2 separate regions of the Homo sapiens genome follow, and region 1 is linked to region 2. Evidence: promoter capture Hi-C in human tissues and cell types (Jung and others, 2019). All regions are on one chromosome and are shown on one strand. Each heading gives the region's core, a stretch centred on a gene start or on the middle of the fragment in contact. The rest is flanking DNA. Distances are from core to core; before and after follow the strand shown. Region 1 overlaps EYA3 (EYA transcriptional coactivator and phosphatase 3). Region 2 holds the start of XKR8 (XK related 8).

What was found. The method cuts DNA at HindIII sites, captures the fragments that hold promoters and counts their contacts. A contact is called where the count stands out against the background at its distance.
Region 1: a contact is called between a fragment that was not itself captured here and the fragment with the promoter of XKR8 in region 2, in 2 of the 25 tissues and cell types used here (dorsolateral prefrontal cortex and hippocampus).

The regions. Positions count from the first base shown.
Region 1 is chr1:28,053,443-28,060,386 of GRCh38, forward strand. EYA3 (EYA transcriptional coactivator and phosphatase 3) reads right to left here. Exons shown (of 18, transcript NM_001990.4): 2 at 4,552-4,652. The coding sequence starts at 4,584. Among named protein-coding and RNA genes, the nearest start is that of EYA3, 32 kb to the right of the region's middle. The HindIII fragment of the contact is 7,152 bases long and covers 1,809-6,944 here.
Region 2 is chr1:27,956,497-27,963,099 of GRCh38, forward strand. XKR8 (XK related 8) reads left to right here and starts at 3,477. Exons shown (of 3, transcript NM_018053.4): 1 at 3,477-3,866. The coding sequence starts at 3,574. It overlaps SMPDL3B (sphingomyelin phosphodiesterase acid like 3B), which reads left to right. Exons shown (of 8, transcript NM_014474.4): 8 at 1,980-2,656. The coding sequence ends at 2,342. RefSeq lists a silencer at 3,348-3,737 and an enhancer at 3,418-3,981. The HindIII fragment of the contact is 22,893 bases long and covers 108-6,603 here.

The DNA of each region.
Region 1 (6,944 bases), core at 4,135-6,634, 99 kb after region 2:
ACACTTTAAATATAACACAGCAAGGAAACAAAAAACCCAGTATACAAATTCAGAATATCCAGGCTCAAGGCTAAGTTCTGAGAGTTAATTCACTGCGTGTCTTTTCTGTATCTGTTTCTTCACCTGTAAAAAAGAAGATACAACTACCTACTTCATAGGGCTCATGTTTCAACAGCAGGAAACAGCAGCATTAACAGTACAAGGATGCTGGCTGAATAAACTTAAGGATGTGCACTGTTAACATAATATGTAAAGATGAAATTTAAACAGGAAAAGAGTGAACTGCTTATGAAAAACAAAGCGCTATGTAATTGTTAAATTTTAGTGTTATTACCATAGACAGCAAGAACAAAGTTGAATCCCAGAAATTTCAAGACAGGCTTAAGAAACAGGACTCTCTAGTTAAGAAAATTGTATTAAGCATCTCAAATGTCATTCTGAAATTACTCTGTGATGACTTACAAGTAATGGCTATGAAGGTTTAAACAAGAGGCAAAAGCATGCTAGTGCTAGGTAAATTGTAATCTTGGCAATAATAAATATAATGGTAGGGTAAAAGTCGTCATGGAGACTATAAAAAGGATGTTTATGTCAAGATTTATCCAACACTGTCCAACAAACAGAAGGACACTGTTCTGTTTACTAAAAAGTCATATTCCATATGCTAGAGGGGTAAAGGGTTTGATCATAACCTAGATGAAATTTCACACAAAAAACAATTTAATGCCATTTTCATTGACTGTGCTTACTAATAGCTATCTAATTATTAATTTGACTTCAAGAACTTAACATAAGGAAAGCAGGACCTAGAGAGGGAGGTAAGCATTCCAAATTATTAGAGAGGTAAATATTTATGGCAGAGACAACTTCCTGTTCTACCACTGCATGTTAGGTGTGACTTCTGATGGAGGCAAAAAAATCTTTTTGTCTTCTCTATCAAGAAGAGTAATCTACAAAATGTAAACAATAGCATACCTAAATTTTTCAAAAAGAGTTTATTCCCATATTTATAAGCAAGCACCTCAATTATTTTAAATAAGTTCTAACCCTCCAGATTCACAGAAGCTTTATCCCATAGACCTGTAACTTAACAAACATGATTGCTAAACCAGTGTTTATCATCTCTGAAAAATCACAGAGAATAAGAGAGGTGCTTGAAACAGAATATAAAGAAATGAGGACAAGGTGGGGGACCTGCTTGAGCCCAGGAGTTCGAGACCAGCCTGGGTAACAGGGCAAAACCCCGTGTCTACTGAAAATACAAAAAAATTAGTTGGGTGTGCTGGTAGTCTCAGCTACTTGGGAGGCTGAGGTGGGAGCATTGCTTCAGCCTGGGAGGCGGAGGCTGCAGTAAGCCAAGATGGCACCACTGCACTACAGCCTGGGCGACAGGGTGAAACCCTGTCTCAAACAAAACAAAAAGAAATGTTTCACTACTTGGTTTGTTTGTTTGTTTTAATTTAAAGGTGATGGTAGAGAGGAATTAGATGCTGGAAACTATAAACTAGTGCTAACTTAATGCTGATTGATGACAGTGTTCTAAAACAGATTACTGAACAGACCTTTGTAGACACCTAGAAAGGATATGACAATCACCTGGAGCTATTATATATTTTCTCTAAGAACACTCAACATCTTTATTGATAGCTTAAAAGATTTAGGCTATAAATAGGTAAAGTATATGACGGAAAGCTGGAAAGACTAAGATTTTTAATTAAGGTATCAAAGGGTGATGATGTTACTTCTTCAGGGACTCTCAGTGTGTAAACTGTAGTGTGAGGTATTTCTTATTCTCAATCCACTGCTGTTCTTTATACTCTATTCTCCAAGTAGAGGCTGTACAATAATCAGTCAAAAGGATCCCCTCATCTGTGGATAAGATTCTTGCATTTTTAGAAGGTGATTTATAGTAATATAACAAAGTTATTTACAACTCAGTTGAAGATTGATAAGCAATAAAGGGAAAGTGAAAGAATCTGAAGTTAAAATTTATTGCATTGTGAGTTATCTAAAGAAAATCTTTTTTTTTTTTTTTTTTTTTTGAGACAGAGTCTCACCCACTCTGTTGTCCAGGCTGGAGTGCACTGGCACAATCTCGGCTCACTGCAACCTCCACCTCCTGGGTTCAAGCGATTCTCCTGCCTCAGCTTCCCAAGTAGCTGGGATTACAGGCAAGTGCCACCACACCTGGCTAATTTTTGTATTTTTAGTAGAGATGGGGTCTCCCCATGTTGGCCAGGCTGGTCTCAAACTCCTGGCCTCAAGTGATCCACCCACCTCCACCACCCAAAGTGCTGGGATTACAGGCATGAGCCACTACGTCCAGCCGATCTGAACAAAATCTTGAGGTAGAGCTAGCAATTAGTGGAGAAATAAGAGAAGGGATAATTCAATAAGGAAGAGTCAAGAAGAGACAATGGGATTAAAATAACTTCAATAATAACGACCATCAGTAACATCTCTAGGATTAAAAATATTGGCTTTATCATCAACTTGGGATGGGACCATTCTTTCCACTCATATTTTAGATCTCCACTACAGCCTGTGAAAAGCTTTTTTTTTTTACCTCAAAATGTGTCATTACTCTTCCTGTTCTATTTTAAACATTAATAAGTATTGTGTTTTCATAGATTCTGTATTTGTCTGTTTGACATCCATTAATTACAGAGCCAAACTCAAGGCCAAACTTGTTTTTTATCTCCCCTGAGATCCAGTGCCCATACTCTGAACCACCTCCTTTATCTAACTCTCACACACTAAGCCCCTATTTCTCCTGCCCTAAATCATAAATCAACCCAGGACAAAGTACCACCAGAAAACCAGGGATAGTCCACAGGCCACAAAGCCTGAAGAATTATTCAAACTAGTCAACGCTAAGCTGTTTACCCTGCCTACCTTGCTTTTCCTGTGGAAACCTCATTAAGTCTGTGGCCCGTGCCTTCCTCCCACTCTTTTTTGCCTCCTGACCAACAGTGGTACTTCCCCCGTGTGGCATGCTATGCCTCTTGTTTCAAGGGGAACTATGAGTAAACACTCAACTTTTCTTTCAGTGGCACTGATCTCTCCATGTCGTCATTCAATCACCTTTTTATATTAAGATCTGGGCATAAATCAATAAGGAAATAATGCCCTGTGACAACCATTTATAGTCAGCAGAAATTTTGGTTTTAAAGTGCTTCAATTTCTTACCTTTCTCTGAAGTAATAATCAGGTTTTGCACATCATGTTACAGAAGTTCAAGAGAATGACAAGGAAATGAAGCAGGGCAGAAGAGATAGATGACTTGTTAGCAGGTCAGCCTCACAATTCTCATTACCTTAAATAGGTAAGGAGTAACTAACAATACCCATATTTCAACAGTATGTCAACACTTACATAAGTCTTTTAAAAATATGACTAGACCTTTGTCTTACCACATTAAAAACTCAATGGCATAATTTTTCCTGGTACATATAGTATCTATAATTCAGCTATTTGTTCCAGTAGTGTAAATCCTAAACACACTGCTCAAGATAATTTTTAACCCTACCATTTCCCTGATAATTAAAGTCCCACCAGGGATAGGGATCACACTTCAAATGTTTCAAAAGGTCTTTTTACCAGTTGCTAATGTCTTCCTAGTTTTATACTTACCTCAACTGAGAGGGCTAGAAGAATAATGACAAAGTAATCATCAATATGCATTTCTCAATATAAAGAAAAATATTTAAAATATATTAAAGGACTTTATCATTTAAATGGGAGCTAGTATACCTAAAGAATACAACTAGAACACGAAAAACATATCCTATTATTTGCTTTCAAAATTCAAATTTTTATAGGTTAGATTTTCATAAAGTAAACATGTACCATGCTGTATCCTCTCTTAATATGAAATGTAAGAGGCCCACTCAGGATAGCAAATTGAATCGGTATTTACCAAACTTCAGAGAAAGAAACTGAAGACAAAAGGAAAAGACCCTCTAGCATAAAAGTTATCTTAAAAGAATGACACTATTGCTTTTGTTTTTTAAATATTAAGGGCCAAAAACCAAAAAGAAGATAAACCCATATCACCTGGGGACATTTAAAATTATTTTATTATGTTCAATATTTAAAAGAAATTAAGAATTCAATATAGTCTCTAGGGTTTTATCTGTTTTTAAGAATTAGCTAGTGGTCAAATTATAACTTCCTCACTACTACTACTTTTTAAAAAATTAACTCTCAAGGAAATTTAGGTAAAAACAAAACTAAATTTTCTGGTAGAAATGGTGATATACTGTCAGATCAGTAAAGAGACGTCCTCTTTTATTTTCTAAAAACTGTAACACTAGCCACTTATTTTTTTAAATGACATTTCTAAATGCAATATTCATTTCGTAATGCTAAATTTTCCTTAGACTCCTTAGAATTAAGTTAGAAAAATATAACATTGTTTTCTTGAAAGGAAACAAGGAATCTTTTCCTTATTTTTATTTCTAATTTGGAATCTATAACTGAATAATAATTAAAATCTCTTAAGATTAGCTCTTCTACAATCAACTTTAAACTGTTAAAGGAAATACTTACTGGTTGCTCTGGTAAATCTTGCTCTTCTTCCATGAGGACCAATATTTCTTTATTATACTTATGTGACTGGATTGCAAGTCTCTCTCAGCAGTTTTCACAATCTGTTTTTAAAAAGGAGGATTCAAAGCTTTATACACTCTTAAAGTATTATCATTGAGGCCATCAGAGAATGATTTTTTAGTATCTTGCTACCCCAAGCTTTCTACGTGAGTTCCAATCACAAAATCTCAAACCTGCACGTGGCTTTTCAAAAATGACATGCTACACCAAATCAAGAGAGGTGTACACAATGACTTTTATAATACCTTGCAAAAGCCAACATGTGGAACCACTTCTGCTGGTTACTATGGTGCCTAATGCATTGAACATTTTACAATGACAGCCACGTGCAGATAATAAAATATTTTTTTAAGGATTAGAGTTACACTAAAAATGATAGGGACTGGCCTAGCAAGTCAGCAAGTTATGATAACATCTAACCTGCTTTAATGTGGAACATTTACATAACTGTTAACACAGACACACAGAATCACTTTAAATAGGACAAACCGGAATATCAACTAAATGCATTCACAACCAACTATCTGTCTATATGTCATCAATTTCAAGGAAAACTCAATTCTTCTGCATCTCAATAATAAAAATAAATAAGTAGAGTGAAACCTTGACTTTTAGAACTAAAGAAAATAATCATCCAAAGATAGGACCTAATTTAATTCTGAAATAATGAACTTCTACTAACTGTACTGCCCAATTATTTAAGCAAAATCTTTACGTTCTCAGACCCTGCTCTTTCTGTCCTGATTTTCAAACAAAAAAGGAAAAATGGGATTCTAAGTCCACCTTACCATGTCCTACTGACAGGAGACAAAGAGACAAAAATTAGAAAGCTGCATACATTATAAAAATGAAATACTCCATTTCTATCTAACAAAAGTGAAACCAGCACTTCTCCCAAAAGATGTGATTGCTTGTATATTTAATTAAAGTCACAGCTGTTTTTAGCTTTTCTACCAACCACTGTACCTAACTCACATACAAAGCTAAAGTAAGTATATAATCTTATCACACAAGTACTGAAAATAGACAAATAACAAGAAAACCAAAAACTTGTTATGCCAGTATACCACCACTCTACTTCTATTACTCTGTCGTGTTGCAATACAACACAACTTTATTTTAGAGCCACACTCCAGAATGTGAAAAGGAGAGAAAACACACATAAGGTTACAATTAGATGCAAAGTTGTCCAACTCTAACACAGCTTTATTCCCTACCCCAATTTAGAATATCAAAAGAAAAAAGAAGTTTAAAGGTCAGAAGCACTTGATGCTCAATGCTCTCACTGTAGCTCATACACAGAGCCTCAAAAGCTAAGTTCTCCTACTACATGACACAGGTAACTAGTGATACAGAATTACAGAGTGCAATAAGTAAAGCTCATAGGAGCTATCTTCCCTGCACTTGTTTTGCTCAGCTTAGAACAACACAGTCAATGTGACCTAAAACTGATTCACAGCTATGAAAGATCAAACATTTTTGGTTTTACTAGTTTATGTCTTAGTTTCAAATTGAAGTATCTTTTCTTTAAGGGACAATCCTTTTCATTTTATACTGTCTAAATGTACATTATGTACATATATTATTTCATCCCATTAGAAACAACAAAATAGGACCACATCATTAGAGAAATGGAATACCTTCAATACCTCATTTGTTGGATTTTTTTTTTTTTTTTTTTTTTTGAGATAGGGTTTCGCTGTGTCACCCAGGCTGGAGTGCAGTGGCGCAATCTCGGCTAACTGCAACCTCCGTCTCCCGGGTTCAAGCAATTTTTCTGCCTCAGGCTCCCAAGTAGCTGGGACTACAGGCGCGCCACCATGCCTGGCTAATTTTTGTATTTTTAGTAGAGATGGGTTTTTGCCATGTTGGCCAGCCTGGTCTTGAACTCCTGACGTCAGGTGATCTGCCTGCCTCAGCCTCCCAAAGTGCTGGGATTACAGGCATACACCTGGCCAAGTTGTTGATTTTTTGTGTGACCAGTTCTCATCCATAGAAAACTTACAACATTACATGTTTTCCCTAATTGAAGGCCATGACTATAAAACTACAATCTCTAGTATATTTTCAGCAAGGGAGATAAAAGGGATATCCACTCCACCATGGGGGAAGAGTTATAAATTTCATCTCTGATAGGAGGAAGGTAAGAATAATTGTTAAAAAATATTTATGTGTATACACACTCAATAATGTGGTTTAATTTTGTTTTTAAACACAAAAACTAATTCGTTTTAAAAATCTGAATTACATTAAAGGAGAACATAATACTACTTACAGGTCAAAAGGGGTCATGGGTTTTAAAAAGTAAGAAAACGCTCTATCAAGTTGAATAA
Region 2 (6,603 bases), core at 2,227-4,726:
GTCTGACTTCAAGCCCATTGTCCACATTTTCCGTACACAGACGAGGCTCCAGCCCCTAATTCTTTGGGCAGTCCCTCACCTCGTAGGATGAGCTTGTGGTTGTTGAGATGAAAAATATTATTCCTTTATTTATCCAACAAAATGCATTAAGTGTGTGCCATTGGCCAGGCCCTGTTCTAATCTCAGAAGATATGTAAATTTAAAAACAAAGTCACCCCTCTCCTGGACCTGACATCTTACAGGAGAGGGACAATAAATATGTAGAATTAATTATAGTACTGAGAGAAGGGCTAAGGAGAAAATCAAAACAGTGAGGCGACAGGGTGACAGCTATGGGAGGTGTGTACTGTGTTAGATAGGTGGGAAGGGGAAGTGTCCACATAAGGTGCCATTTGAGTTCTGAGTGTATTGAGGGAGGGAGCCCAGTGGGTATCTTGGGGAGGTGGAGGGAACAGCAAGTCAAAGGCCCCGGGGTGGGAATGTGCGTGGTAGGTTAGGGGAAGAGCACGGAGGCCATGTGGCCACAGTAAGAGGCACAAGGGGAGAGTGGGAGGGGAGGTCCGATCTTGCAGGCCTCCATGAGGACTCTGGATTTGGAGGGTTTTGCGCAGAAGAATGAAATCCTGTGACTTATAATTTTATGGAATCATCATGTCTGCTGTGCAGGGAACAGGCTGTAGGGGCAGGTGGGGGAGCAGTGAGGCCGTTTGGAGGGAAGGACAAATCCCAGATGACAGGATAGTAGCTTGCCCAGGGTGGAGGCAGTGAGATGGTGAAAAGTGCCAGGTCCCAGATGAATTCTGGATGCAGGATTTGCTAGAGTGGATATGAGCTGTGAGAAAAAGGGACGAATCCAGGAGGCTTCCAAGGCTCTTGGCCTGTGCAACGGTAGGCTGTGGCTGCCGATTACTGAGATAAGTGGCAGGGTGATCAGGCTTCGGAGGGTCAGTCAGAGGTCTTGTTTTGGACCTGTTACCTTTGGGAGGGCTAAATGGCATCAAGTGAAAGTGGACAGGGAAGGGGCAAGTTGGAGCTTGAAGAGGTGAGGATAGAGATGTGATCTGGGAGTGGAGAGAGGACATTTAAAGCCAACGACTGCATGAGCTAACCCAGGTCCTTGATTCTAGTAAAGGTAGATTAAGAAGAGGTCTGAGGGGTTTAAAGAGTGGCCTGTTGTCCACATGGGCACTCCAAGGGTCTGAGCAAGGGGAATGGCAGGCTGCACCATCACCCCCTAACAGGCCCTCCATTCTCCTCAGGGAGGGAGTCAGCCCTGAGCTTGAATCCTGGCTCCACCACTCATAAGCTTTTTGATCTTTTGACCTCTGTGCCTCACTTGCTTCATCTGTAAAATGGGAGTAACAGAACCTCGCAGGGTTTGAGGAGGACTACATGAAATAATGGAATGTTCCTGGCACAGAGTGGCCATGCATACGGGCAGCTCCTCTTACCCCGTCTGCAGTGGCCTGAAGCAGGTTCATAAATGTACCTGGAACCCGCTGGACTGATGAACCCTGCAGAGTCTAGCCGTGAACATGCACCTGGGTCCTAGGAGTCTACAGTTCATAATCTCTCTCATGCTTAGTGTTGCTCTTTTTATGTTGCTTTTATCTATTCATTATGTAAATATTTACTGAGCGTCTTCTATGTGTACCCTAGCATGGTGGGACCTGGGGTAAACCTGGGGTCCAATCCTGCTACCACTGAATACCTGTATGAATACCTGTATGACCCTGGCCAAGTGAATTAACCTCTTTAGGCCTCAGTTTCCTCATTTGTGAAACCTAGGTAATAAGCGCAGTTACCTCATTCGATTCAGAGGATGTCTGCCAAGCACAATGGGTGCACAGCTAAGTGCTCAATAACTACTAGTGGTCATGGTCACTGCTCTAAAGAACTTGGGGGCAAATGCAAGGTGCAGGATGGGGATGGAAGCAGACAACTGCTCACAGCCGGTCTACCCCAAACCCTTTTTCCAGGACATGGTGACCTACTTCATGAACCTGAGCCAGGCGAATGCTCAGGGGACGCCGCGCTGGGAGCTCGAGTACCAGCTGACCGAGGCCTATGGGGTGCCGGACGCCAGCGCCCACTCCATGCACACAGTGCTGGACCGCATCGCTGGCGACCAGAGCACACTGCAGCGCTACTACGTCTATAACTCAGTCAGCTACTCTGCTGGGGTCTGCGACGAGGCCTGCAGCATGCAGCACGTGTGTGCCATGCGCCAGGTGGACATTGACGCTTACACCACCTGTCTGTATGCCTCTGGCACCACGCCCGTGCCCCAGCTCCCGCTGCTGCTGATGGCCCTGCTGGGCCTGTGCACGCTCGTGCTGTGACCTGCCAGGCTCACCTTCTTCCTGGTAACGGGTAACGGGGGCAGCGCCCAGGATCACCCAGAGCTGGGCCTTCCACCATTTCCTCCGCGCCTGAGGAGTGAACTGAAATAGGACAACCGAATCAGGAAGCGAAGCCCCAGGAGCTGCAGCCATCCGTGATCGCGCCACTGCACTCCAGCCTGGGTGACAAAGCCAGACTCTCTCCAAAAACAAACCAGAAACAGAAAAGAAATGACGACCCAAGACCCCCCTACAAGCATACTTCTTTTGCGTATTATGTTTAACTCACAAAACAAAGCTCATCATGCGTTTGATTCTGTGTTGTGTTCCTTTTCTTTTCTTTTGAGACGGAGTCTCGCTCTGTCGCCCAGGCCGGAGTGCAGTGGCGCTATCTCGGCTCTCTGCAACCTCTGCCTCCCGGGTTCAAGCGATTCTCCTGCCTCAGCCTCCTAGCTGGGACTACAGGCGCGCGCCAACACGCCCGACTAATTTGTATTTTTAGTAGAGACGGGGTTTCGCCATGTTTGCCAGGCTGGTCTCGAACTCCTGACCTCAGGTGATCCGCCCGCCTGGGCCTCCCAAAGTGTTGGGATTACAGGCGTGAGTCACCGCGCCCGGCCTCTATTCCCTTCCGTATGGAAATGAGGTTAACTCATTTGCAGGAACCTAACGCCCGCCCTCCCCCGACTCGGATCGCTGGCGTGAACCCAGCGGCCCCGTGCTCTCCGGGTATCCCTGGATCGAGGCGCACGCGTTGTTGCAAAGTCTCGCACTTAGGGATTAGAATGTGCCTTTGCGTTTCGTTTTGTTTTGCAACAATACAGGTGTGAGGGATCGCAGCCCTGGTCCAGGCTCTAGTCTCCCCGCCCTCTCGCTTTCTTGGGCCTCCGGGCGCCTCAAAGGTAAAACTAGGCCATTTGAAGCCTGCGAAGCGAAGGGCAGTCGGTCTTCAGGCCTAGCGGGCTTGGCTGGGCTGGGTCGGTGGACCCCTGGGCTGGCGGCGGGAGCAGAGCATCGAGCGGCTTTTAGCTGGGGTTCGGGCGGAGGACCTGGGACAACCGCGGGCCTCGCTCCTCCCCGGACGGGGCGGGACGGGGAAGTCCCGCCCACCAGGCCCAGGCCCCGGGCCGCCCCGAGGGCTGCGCCCACCTCCTTCCTGCCTCGGCAACCCCGGGCCCTGAGGGCAGGCCCCAACCGCGGAGGAGCAGGAGAGGGCGGAGGCCGGCGGGCCATGCCCTGGTCGTCCCGCGGCGCCCTCCTTCGGGACCTGGTCCTGGGCGTGCTGGGCACCGCCGCCTTCCTGCTCGACCTGGGCACCGACCTGTGGGCCGCCGTCCAGTATGCGCTCGGCGGCCGCTACCTGTGGGCGGCGCTGGTGCTGGCGCTGCTGGGCCTGGCCTCCGTGGCGCTGCAGCTCTTCAGCTGGCTCTGGCTGCGCGCTGACCCTGCCGGCCTGCACGGGTCGCAGCCCCCGCGCCGCTGCCTGGCGCTGCTGCATCTCCTGCAGCTGGGTTACCTGTACAGGTGAGTGCTTCGCCCCGGGAGGGGAGGAGTGTCGGAGCCCAGCACCTCCGTCAGCTGGGTCACCTGTACAGGTGACACGCCATATGCCGGGAAGGGGACTGGGAGAGGGAACCAAGTCCTGTGGGCGCCTGGCCTACAGGTGAGCGTGCAGCCCTTTACGGAAAGGGAATCCCGGTAGACTGCCTTCATTCTAGCCCTAGCTTTCCTGGCACAGGCGAAGAAACTGAGGCCCAGGGAAGAAAGGGAGGCGCATGGGCTTTGAAGTCGGACCTCTCAGGGATCCACTTCTGGCTTTGCCCCCTCTCGCCTCACTTCTGCATTTCTCTGAGCCTCAGTTTCCTCCTGCGTAGAAAGGAGGTAGTCACCCTGAGACAGGTGTGACGGGCAGGCCTGTTGTGAAGAGTGAGCGAAAGAATGAGAAAGTGCCTCGCACAGTGCCTGGCCTGTAATGGCAGGGGCTGCGGACTCAGTTCAGCATCCCATGTTTCAGCATGGGCAGGGCCTTGGGAAGTCACTGACCTCTCAGTGGGGCTGTTTGGTTGCTGTTCCCATTGGGATGGGGATAGCGCCTGCCCGTTTGGTGAAGATGCAGTGAAATGACATCTGTCCACTGCCCTGGCTCAGAGTGAGCACTCAGCAACCTCAGCTGGCTTCTTGACCTGGGCCTCCCTGGGAGTTTCAGCAGCCCTGACCCCACCACAGCGCTTGCCCCTCACAAAGGCCGCCTCTCACCCTGTCTGCCTGGTTGTATTCTTCCCCCTGAAACTTGGCTTCCCACCCCAGACCCAGCAAGAGGGCAGAGATGGCCTCTGACTCATCCATGCCCATGGAGCCAGCCAGGGCTGGGCATAGGCTGGGTCCTGGAAAATGTGTGTGGATTCTGCTCCTTTTTGGACCTGGTGGAGCCTCGTAGAGATGGGAAAACAAACCCAAGGCTCAGAGGCATGCGACAAAGTCAGGGCAGAGGGTGGTGTGGGTTGGGATGGGGTGGCCAGGGCCAGGATCTGCTCTTGAATCCGTTTTTACAAACTCTTGAGATCTGGCCTTGACAAAGCCACACGGAGTCTCCAGGAGTGGAAGAGAGGAGCTTTGAATGTGGCAGTTTTGCCTGAGGGATTATAGAGACATCAGAAAACCCCGGGTGGGCATGAAGGGGTGCAGTTGTTAAGTCCTGGGCAGGCCTCCATGAGCCGTGAATCTGTAACTACCTTATGCATCTTTGTGGCCAATATTTCTGCTGAGCTTGAGTCAGACAGACTGTACTAGCTTTGGCTTTGGAAATGGGTCTCTGTTCCTGCCTGTGAATTGGCCGAGGCAGGGGTCCCTGCTAGGTCACTGGGGACCATAGGCAAAGGCTCCTGCTGAGGGAGAACCCCAGCCTGTCCTGCCTGCCTGCTCCTCAGTGTGTTCTTGTGTCCTTCCAGGGGAAGTGACAGTACATGTCTGGTGAATGAGCTTGTGATGAGTGAACGGGGTTCTCTCCCAATAGGCAACTGAGAGCAAAGTTCTGGGTGGAGGGTCCTTGGTGCATCCTCCACTTACTCTTCATGCCAGTGGGTACCCCAGACCTGTCTGTCCAAACTCTGGACTCTCTTAACTCCGCCCCAATCTCCATCCTTAACCACTCAGGGCCAGCCTCTTAAATGGGATCCCTCCTTCCAATCTAACCCTCCTCCAGCCCCTCCCCTGTGTGGCCGGGGCAAGGCAGAGTCTGATTCCATCTGGCCTGTGCCCAGAAGTGCCCAAGAGGCAAATGTCCTCTTGCCCACAGGACCCCAGGAGATCTTGGGCACACTAAAGTTTGAGAACTACTGCCTCAGGCAACTTTATAGCATGCCTTTCCAATTCAGGTTTGGATCCAAATCCTCATTCCAGTACTTATTAGCTGCTTATAATTTTTTGTTTGTTTTTTAAAAAGAGGTAGGGTCTGGTCAGGCTTGGTGGCTCATGCCTGTAATCCTAGCAGTCTGGGAGGCTGACGTGGGTGGATCACTTGAGGTCAGGAGTTTGAGACCAGCCTGCTGAACATGGCAAAAGCTCATCTCTACAAAAATTAGCCAGGTGTGGTGGCGCATGCCTGTAATCCCAGCATCCCAGCTACTCTGGAGGCCGAGGCAGGAGAATCGCTTGAACCTGGGAGGTGGAGGTTGCAGTGAGCCGAGTTTGTGCCACTGCACTCTAGCCTGGGCGACAAGCGACAGATGTAGACTCTGTCTCCAAAAAAAAAGAAAAAAAAAAAGAGAGAGAGAGGCAGGGTCTCTGTTGCCTGGGCTGGAGTGCAGTGGCACAATCAATCATGGCTCACAGTGGCCTTGAACTCCTGGGCTCAAGCTGTCCTCCTGCGTCAGCCTCCTGAGTAGCTTGGACTACAGGCTTGTACCACCACGTCCAACTAATTAAAAAAAATTCTTTGTAGAGATGGGGCTTGCTGTGTTGCCCAGGGTGGTCTCAAACTCCTGGCCTCCAGTGATCCTCTTGCCTTGGCCTGTCAAAATGTTGGGATTACAGGCGCGAGCCACTGCACCCAGACCTTATTAGCTTCTTGATCCTGTTTCCCCATCTGTAAAATGGGCTTTTGTGAGAAGTAAACAGGACAAGGTTTGTGATGAGCTTGGGACAGTGCTTAGCCAGCGGGAGTAGAAGGTGTATTGATCCCCATTTTTGCTTTTTTGTTTTTTTTGAGACGGAGTCTTGTTCTGTCGCCAGGCTGGAGTGCAGTGGCACGATCTCGGCTCAC